2 separate regions of the Homo sapiens genome follow, and region 1 is linked to region 2. Evidence: promoter capture Hi-C in 16 types of primary human blood cells and fetal thymus (Javierre and others, 2016). All regions are on one chromosome and are shown on one strand. The core of a region is centred on a gene start or on the middle of the fragment in contact, and the rest is flanking DNA. Distances in the headings are between cores, read along the strand shown.

Region 1 (4,273 bases), core at 1,403-3,902, 200 kb before region 2:
CCTTGGGTGTGTGTTTACTGTTGAGTGAATTAAAAATAATAAATTGCTTTATGTATTTTGGAATGGTCGAGATTATTCATCTAAGATGCTTAAAAGGCATTAAAAATAAAAACAGATCATGTGTCAAAGATGCCTAGTGTATTTCTACCTCTAATCAGAGTCAGTGTTTCCCACTAAAAGAATTCCCCAGAATCTGGAAAAGATTCCTGTTTTAAAGAAAGTTTATAAAGTAACTGCTTTGAGATGGTGAGACAAAGGCAGCATCTTAGGAAGATTCTTCCTTTGCCTCAAAAATAACATACATGACTTTGACGTAAATTATTTTCAGGTGTTTCTGACAGGTATTACAACACTTCTAAAATAATGGTCATATTTTCTCTTGTTCTGTGACTTGTATTTCACCTTGATGTAATGGTGTAATGAGACTGATATCTTGAGGAAGAGGAGAGATTGAGATTTATCTTGCTGTGGTTTCTGTGTTGTTTGATTTGCTCATTTTTAGAAAAAAGTTTCCATTCCACTTCTGAATGAAAGTAGTTGAATGCAAAAAAATCCATACTTTGAGAAAAGAATGTGCGACATTACTTAATATCTGATCCCTCAGAGTATTCTTCTACTGAAATTGCTTATATAGGAATGGATGACATTAAAACAAGAAAGCAACTTCAATTTAGGCGGGCTAAATATTTGTGTGGCTATTTTGATATTCAATATTTTATTGACAAACACAACAGGAAGATTTGGAATCTACTAGAATGCTTTTTGGCTATTAATAATTGAGAAGCCTAATAAATAAGAATTGTTTATTCCAGAAACACAGAACAAACTATGTTACTTAATAAATGAAACATGATTGGAGATCAATTTGTCTCCTCAAAAGTTTAGACTTATAAAGTCTACAATTTGGAAGGAAGTTGAGCAATTATCTCCAGCCTCCTGTCAGATTGGAATTCCACTTACAACATCCTAATTAGATTTTCCCAGGGCCCTCAGTATGGAAATATCATTAATTGCAAGAGCAACTCATTTTAGATTTTTAGCTGAATCTTCCCCTAAAACTTTTACCTAGTAATCCTGATTCTTCATAGAAGGGAGTCTCAGTTCACTTCCATTGTAGAATACATCAGTTCTGAAGATGGATGTCTTAAGAGGTTTGCCCATTCCCACAGGTTAAGGCATTTCCTGCATCCGTGCCATATATCTATTTACAGTTTGCTCTGATGAACTTTCTGAGCGAATCCAGAAAAATCCTCATTACTCTAGTACTCTAGGCAGAATATATATGTCAGCTGATACATCAGAGGTCACAAAGGCATTCACTCTCAATTACACATTATCATCATGTATCCTTCCCACCCCTTTATTTCAATTTATAAAGTCATTTGTTACTATGAATTCTTTACATATTTTATCTTTCTGTGAATACTACATGGGATAGACATTTCCCTCATTTCTTGCTTTTCTTTTCCCTCTCTGGTAAAAATGTCACCCTCTGAGAGAAAAGAAAGGAAAAGATTAACGATTTACATTTTACTTATAGTGCTTATTATTTTCCTCTCAGTAACATCAACATGACCAAAAATTACTTATACCTTATGGGGATAAACGGTTTTTTATAATCAAACTTATTGATGACTTCTATGAAGAAGCAAATCAACCTTTGAGTAAGGGATTTCTTTAGTAGTTTTACAATGTAAACTTCAAAGCACTTGTTCAAAAATTTCACCCTTCATTCTTAACTCTTCATGTGCACAAGAGTGACTTAGCTACTTGTGTTATAAGAAATCTAAACTTAAATATGTTAGGCACTCATTTAGCATGTCTACCAAATAAGGATTGTTATTGGGTTATTTCTTCTAATGGTTCAAAGAATTGAAAGAAGGAATAGATATTGAAATTTTTTTTCTGTTCTCAATTGAATTTATAAAATTGGAGCAAGATCAAAGTCCCTTCCAGATTACAAGGTATTTTTCAGATCTTTACAAATACCAGAACTCTCAGTGTCTTAGCCGTTTGATCCAATTTCTAGAAGGACAGGATGAATGAAGCATCAAGTTTTTTTCTTTGTTTTTTTGTTTCTTTGTTTGTTTGTTTGTTTTGGAGATGGAATCTTGCTCTGTCTCCCAGGCTGGAGTGCAGTGGTACGATCTCGGCTCACTGCAAACTCCGCCTCCCGGGTTCAAGCAATTCTCCTGCCTCAGCCTCCTGAGTAGCTGGGATTACAGCCGCCCACCACCATGCCCGGCTAATTTTTGTATTTTTAGTAGAGACGGAGTTTCACCATGTTGGTCAGGCTGGTCTGGAACTCCTGACCTCGTGATATGCCTGCCTCAGCCTCCCAAAGTGCTGGAATTACAAGTGTGAGCCTCCGCGCCCGACCCTTTGAAGCATCAGTCTTATAGGTACAATTATGGTGGTTTTCATTCTACCTAAGCAAGATGAATGAGAAATGGCATTTTTGTTTCATGAACAATTGCTTTGAAAAACTAATGAAATTCTTTCATGTAGAAGTCTACGTTCATAAATAAAATTCTTTGAGTGTTAATATATTTCATTTTGACTGCAGCCTAATTAAGTGTTCTCATTAGAATGGGCACTTGTGACTACACCTATTGCTAGAGTATGTCAGTGTCCAGTATAGAAGGTAACATTCACACACACACGCTCCTCACTGCAAATCACCTGAGCTCAGAACTCCTGTTAACATGTCTTACAACTGCAGCTCTGGAAACTTCTCCTCCTGCTGTTTTGGAAGTTACCTGAGGTATCCAGTTTCCACTTATAATTTGTTCTACCCCAGCAATGCCATCTATTCTCCAAATACCTGCCAACTGGGCTCCTCTCTCTACAATGGCTGTCAGGAGACCTACTGTGAGCCCACCAGCTGCCAGACATCCTGCACTTTGGCCAGATCCTATCAGACATCCTGTTACTGCCCAAAGAATTCCATCTTCTGCAGTCCCCGCCAGACTAACTACATAAGATCCCTTGGATGTGGAAACACTGGCCTTGGATCTCTTGGTTGTGGAAGCACTGGCTTCCAATCTCTGGACTGTGGGTCCAGCTTCTACCACCCAACTACCTTTTCATCCAGGAATTTCCAGGCAACTTGTTACTAACCAGCCTTTGGGTCTCGCCTTTTTGGATCATCTTACTGAATATTCTCCATTCTCTCATGATTATTTCTGTACTCTATGGAACTGCAACACTCAGCCTGTCCAATATCTGTGATTGTTGACCATCTACATCAGTAGGACTCAGCATCCTAGCCCTCTTGGAAGTATATGATTGAACACGGACAAATTAATCTTGACCTAGGACCCTTCCTAAATCTGACAGGAGATATATCTTGAATTTCAATTTTTGTGCCAATGCTCAGGATCATTTCTGTTATCATCTTTCTAAAATCCTTCTCTCATTATTTTCCCAGAACTCTTCCACTCAAATATATTTCAAATAGTTACAATATTTTAAATAAGCTTATTTCTTTGGCATGAATTCTGGCATTCCATTTTATTTTGTTAATACAATACACTTAGGCTGGGCATGATGGCTCACACCTGTAATCCCAGCACTTTGGGAGACTGAGGCTGGCGGATCACTTTAGGTCAAGAGTTTGAGGCCATCCTGGCCAACACAGTGAAAACCCATTTCTACTAAAAATACAAAAATTAGCAAGGCCTGGTGTGCACCTATAATCCCAGCTACTCAGGAGGCTGAGGCAGGCGAATCACTTGAATCTGAGAGACGGAGGTTGTAGTCAGCTGAGATCATGCCACTACACTCCAGCCTGGGCAACAAAGTGGGACTCTGTGTCAAAAAATAAATAAATAAATAAGTAAAAATGATACATTTAGTGAATTCATCCCATATCTTCAACTGTCTTCCTTAGGTACACTTTTTGTTTGTTTCATATGTTTTATTGATATTTTGTTGAATAGAAAACAAAGTGCAAAGAAAATTTAAATATATAACCTATCACATGTTTTAAGAGATTTAAATCCCCTCATAAGTGCATTTTTTATATATTTGCTTCAGAAAATTTTGTTTTAGTCTTTCATTGAAAAAAAATTTATTGAGGTCCTATTATATACCAAGCATTACGCTGAACAAAGACACAAATTCTCTGCTTCAGGAAGTTCCCACAAATACAATTATAACTTATATGGCAAATGGAATAATGGGGTGAAGACAAGATTCAGTGGGAACACAAAGAAGAACTTCAAAAACACTCAGAGAAAATAATATAAACCCATTATTGAAAATAGAGTAA
Region 2 (4,174 bases), core at 1,156-3,655:
TGCTGTTTTGGTTACTGTAGCCTTGTAGTATAGTTTGAAGTCAGGTAGCATGATGCCTCCAGCTTTGTTCTTTTGGCTTAGGATTGACTTGGCAATGTGGGCTCTTTTTTGGTTCCATATGAACTTTAAAGTAGCTTTTTCCAATTCTGTGAAGAAAGTCATTGGTAGCTTGATGGGGATGGCATTGAATCTATAAATTACCTTGGGCAGTATGGCCATTTTCACAATATTGATTCTTCCTACCCATGAGCATGGAATGTCCTTCCATTTGTTTGTATCCTCTTTTTTCACTGAGCAGTGGTTTGTAGTTCTCCTTGAAGACGTCCTTCACATCCCTTGTCAGTTGGATTCCTAGGTATTTTATTCTCTTTGAAGCAATTGTGAATGGGAGTTCACTCATGATTTGGCTCTCTGTCTTTTATTGGTGTATAAGAATGCTTGTGATTTTTGCACATTGATTTTGTATCCTGAGATTTTGCTGAAGTTGCCTATCAGCTTAAAGTATCTCAAAATAATAAGAGCTAGCTATGACAAACCCACAGCCAATATCATACTGAATGGGCAAAAACTGGAAGCATTCCCTTTGAAAACTGGCACAAGAGAGGGATGCCCTCTCTCACCACTCCTATTTAACATAGTGTTGGAAGTTCTGGCCAAGGCAATCAGGCAGGAAAAGGAAATAAAGGGTATTCAGTTAGGAAAAGAGGAAGTCAAATGTTCCCTGTTTGCAGATGACGTGATTGTATATCTAGAAAACCCCATCATCTCAGCCCAAATTTTCTAGCCCTCTTATTCAGAAAGTTGAGCATACACACCAGCTCTCTGTCATCAAGTGAAGGTGGGGAACATAAGGTTGGGCTTAAGGGAGTTGTGAAAGCACAAACAACTTACAGAAGCAATTGGCTTGGATTCTCATGGTTTCCTCTCTGCTGAGTTGTCTCTTCTTTCTCAACATACACCTATGAATTTATGCTGATTTTCCAGTTGGAGAAGGAAAAATTAGTCCTGGATTATAGATGGTTCTGCCAATATGGTAGCACTGCCTAAAAGTGGATGACTGAAGTACAACAGATCAAATCGGGGATTACCCTAAAGGTCAGTGGTGAAGGAAAATTTTCAATTATTTTTAATCATCTTAAGAAATGATAGTATCTAGATTCAGCCTGCCTTTGAGAACTTAAGTCTACATATAAGTACATGATACAGACAGAGTCAATATCCCTACAGAAAAATTAATAGTCATGCCTTCTGTTATATTTGGGTCTCAAAAATGTCTACTTTACGTTCCTGTGACTTTGGAATCAGATAAGATTCTCAATGCTTTTCTTTTCTCCGAAGAAACATATCTACATTGCAGTGCAGGTACAAGATAATCAACCAAACAACTTTTTAAAGAATGCTTAAGGTGTGGAGAAGAAGGAACTAAACAGGCAAGAAAAGGGCACTACTTTTAAGAGAGCATAGCAATAGGAAAACTACAGAATAATATGTGATTGGTGGGAGTTTGTACAGAATAAATCACAGTTGATCCTTGAACAATGCAGGGATTAGGAGTGCCAACCTCCACGCAGTTGAAAATCTGAGTATAACTTTTGACTCCCCAAAAACTTAACTACTAATAGCCTACTGTTGACCAGAAGCCTTACCAATAACATAAACAGTTGATTAATACATGCTTATGTTACCTGTAATGAGAGATTATACTCCTATAATAAAGTAGGCTAAAGAAAAGAAAATTTTATTAAGAAAATAAAGAAAAAGAGAAAATGGATTTACTATTCACTAAGTGGAAGTGGATCATCATAAAGGTCTTCAGCCTTATTGTCTTCATGTTGAGTAGGTTGAGGAGGAGAAGGAGGAGGAGGGGTTGGTCTTGCTGCCGGAGTGGCAGAGGTGAAGAAAATCTGCTTAATATAAGCGTATCTGTGCAGTTCAAACTCATGGTATTCAAGAGTCCACTGTATTTGCTACTAAGTTTTATAGCGATAACATCACAGCTGTGTTGATTAAGATTTAAATATGCATATAAGAAGAAGGGTATTATTAGCAAAGTGATCGGAAGAGGATGGCATTTGCCTCCTCCACGTGATGTCATCCAACATAGCTACAAAGGTTAAATTCGGCATCAGTGTGAGTAAGGTCATGGAACTCAGTATTTTTTTTTCCTTTAAAGTCTATCAGCTGTTTGGCAGGATCATAACATACTGAGAAGAAAATCTCAATTTTATCAGGATAGGGAGTCTTTTTTTAAAATCTAAAGATACAAGATTAATGAGATTTTTAAATACAGGTTGGTCTATATGACAATGTCAGGAGTGCCTGTGGTTTGTCACACCTCCACTGAGACTGATAAAAGACCCAGTATTTTAGTGTTTTTATGCACTAAAACTTATGCTGGCCTCTCAGGCTAGAGACTTAAATCCTGACACAATGAGCTACTATGGCAACTACTACGGAGGACTGGGCTATGGCTATGACTGTAAATATAGTTATACCTCTGGCTTTGGTGCCTTTAGAATCCTGGACTGTGGCTACAGATGTGGCTGTGGTGGGGTATGGATTTGACTGCTGCCACCAATATGATTATGCTACATGCTTATTATCAGGCACTGACTGAATAATATCTACAATTGGGTCCATTTTCTTATGAGACAGGGGTGCTGTTCTACTACACTTTTTTTAATTTGTTTAACCCAATTAGAATTCTTAATGATTCCCTATAATCCCAGCACTTTAGGAGGCCGAGGCGGGTGGATCACCTGGGGTTAGGAGTTCGAGACCAGCCTGGCCAACATGGCAAAATCCCATCTCTACTAAAAGTTAAAAAAATAGCCAGGTGTGGTGGTGGGTGCCTGTAGCCCCAGCTACTGGGGAGGCTGAGGCAGGAGGATCACTTGAACCCAAAGGCAGAGGTTGCAGTCAGCCGAGATGGCACCACTGCACTCCAGCCTGAGCAACAAAATGAGATTCCATCTCAAAAAAACAAAAATAATGCTTAGTTATTCAATCTAATTCTAGGCAAAGAACACACATCATTAAATTCACACTAAATCCACATCAGTGCCCCAGATTAACTACATTTTTCTCTTCCAAACTGATGTGTTTTCATAATTTACCAAGCAAATTACTTTTTGATATGTTTCAGGAGTAGGGAGCTCTAGGTTTATTTTTAATTAAACTTACTTTGGCCAGGCCAATGTCATTCATTTTTTAAATTTATTAATTACTCACTTGTTTAATAAGTCCTCATTAAGTAATTTCTATATAGGGCTTCCTGTTAAGTCTTAGTGTTACTTATGGGAGAAGAGTTTTTAAGCAGAAAAACAAATGTTTAAATAAACATGTATGCTACAACATGATAGGTGATGTAATAGCCACGTAGGAACACAGAGGAGAAGCTCATGTTTGGATGCAAAAGAGCGAGATTGTAGAGCAAACAGATCAAAAATATTCTCATTGAAGGTTACATTTGAATAAATTTTTAACCAACGAAAAATACATTGGAGGTAAAGTGTATGCCAGGCAGGGGAAACAAATATGCAAAGCCATGAAAAAAGTATTGCACTGCAAAGTCATAAATTGATGTTATTTCTTGAGAGAACAGTGGGCAAAGTCACTGGCAGGAAATGAAGCCCTGGGCAGTGAAGAGAAACTAGAACATCAAGGCCATATATATTTTGCAATGGGTGTACTGGATAATGTTTTATAAAGTTGTAATATTTTCCTTTACCTGGATGAGATTGGAAACTATTATTCTAAGTGAAGTAACTCAGGAATGGAAAACCAAACATCGTATGTTCTCACTGATATGTGGGAGCTAAACTATGAGGATGCAAAAGTATAAGAATGATACAATGGACTTTGGGAATGTGGGGGGAAGGGTGAGAAGGAGGTGAGGGATAAAAGACTACAAATATGGTGCAGTGTATACTGCTTGGGTGACAGGTGCACCAAAATCTCACAAATCACCACTAAAGAACCTACTCATGTAATCAAATACCAACTGTACCCCAATAACTCATGGAAAAATAAAATAAAAATAAGAAGCGCATGTTTTATACAAATAATTATGGCATCCAATTGAAGGAAAGGTGGCCAAGGAGTATGACCACAGACCAAACGACCATTCTGGAGGCTGTGTAAGCAGCCAATGCAAGGTCTTAATGTAAAAGCG

What was found. Contacts are between HindIII fragments. The CHiCAGO score rates a contact against its expected background, and 5 or more counts as called.
Region 1: the fragment with the promoter of KRTAP15-1 here is called in contact with the fragment with the promoter of KRTAP20-3 in region 2 in 2 of 17 cell types (monocytes and neutrophils); the score reaches 5.4 in monocytes.

What each region holds. Positions count from the first base shown.
Region 1 is chr21:30,437,623-30,441,895 of GRCh38, forward strand. It overlaps KRTAP15-1 (keratin associated protein 15-1), which reads left to right and starts at 2,653. Exons shown (of 1, transcript NM_181623.3): 1 at 2,653-3,247. The coding sequence starts at 2,706. The coding sequence ends at 3,119. All of the region lies in intron 3 of LOC105372772 (a long non-coding RNA gene), which reads right to left. The HindIII fragment of the contact is 9,658 bases long and covers 1-3,477 here.
Region 2 is chr21:30,640,459-30,644,632 of GRCh38, forward strand. It overlaps KRTAP20-3 (keratin associated protein 20-3), which reads left to right and starts at 2,406. Exons shown (of 1, transcript NM_001128077.1): 1 at 2,406-2,678. The coding sequence starts at 2,431. The coding sequence ends at 2,565. The HindIII fragment of the contact is 10,269 bases long and covers 1-4,174 here.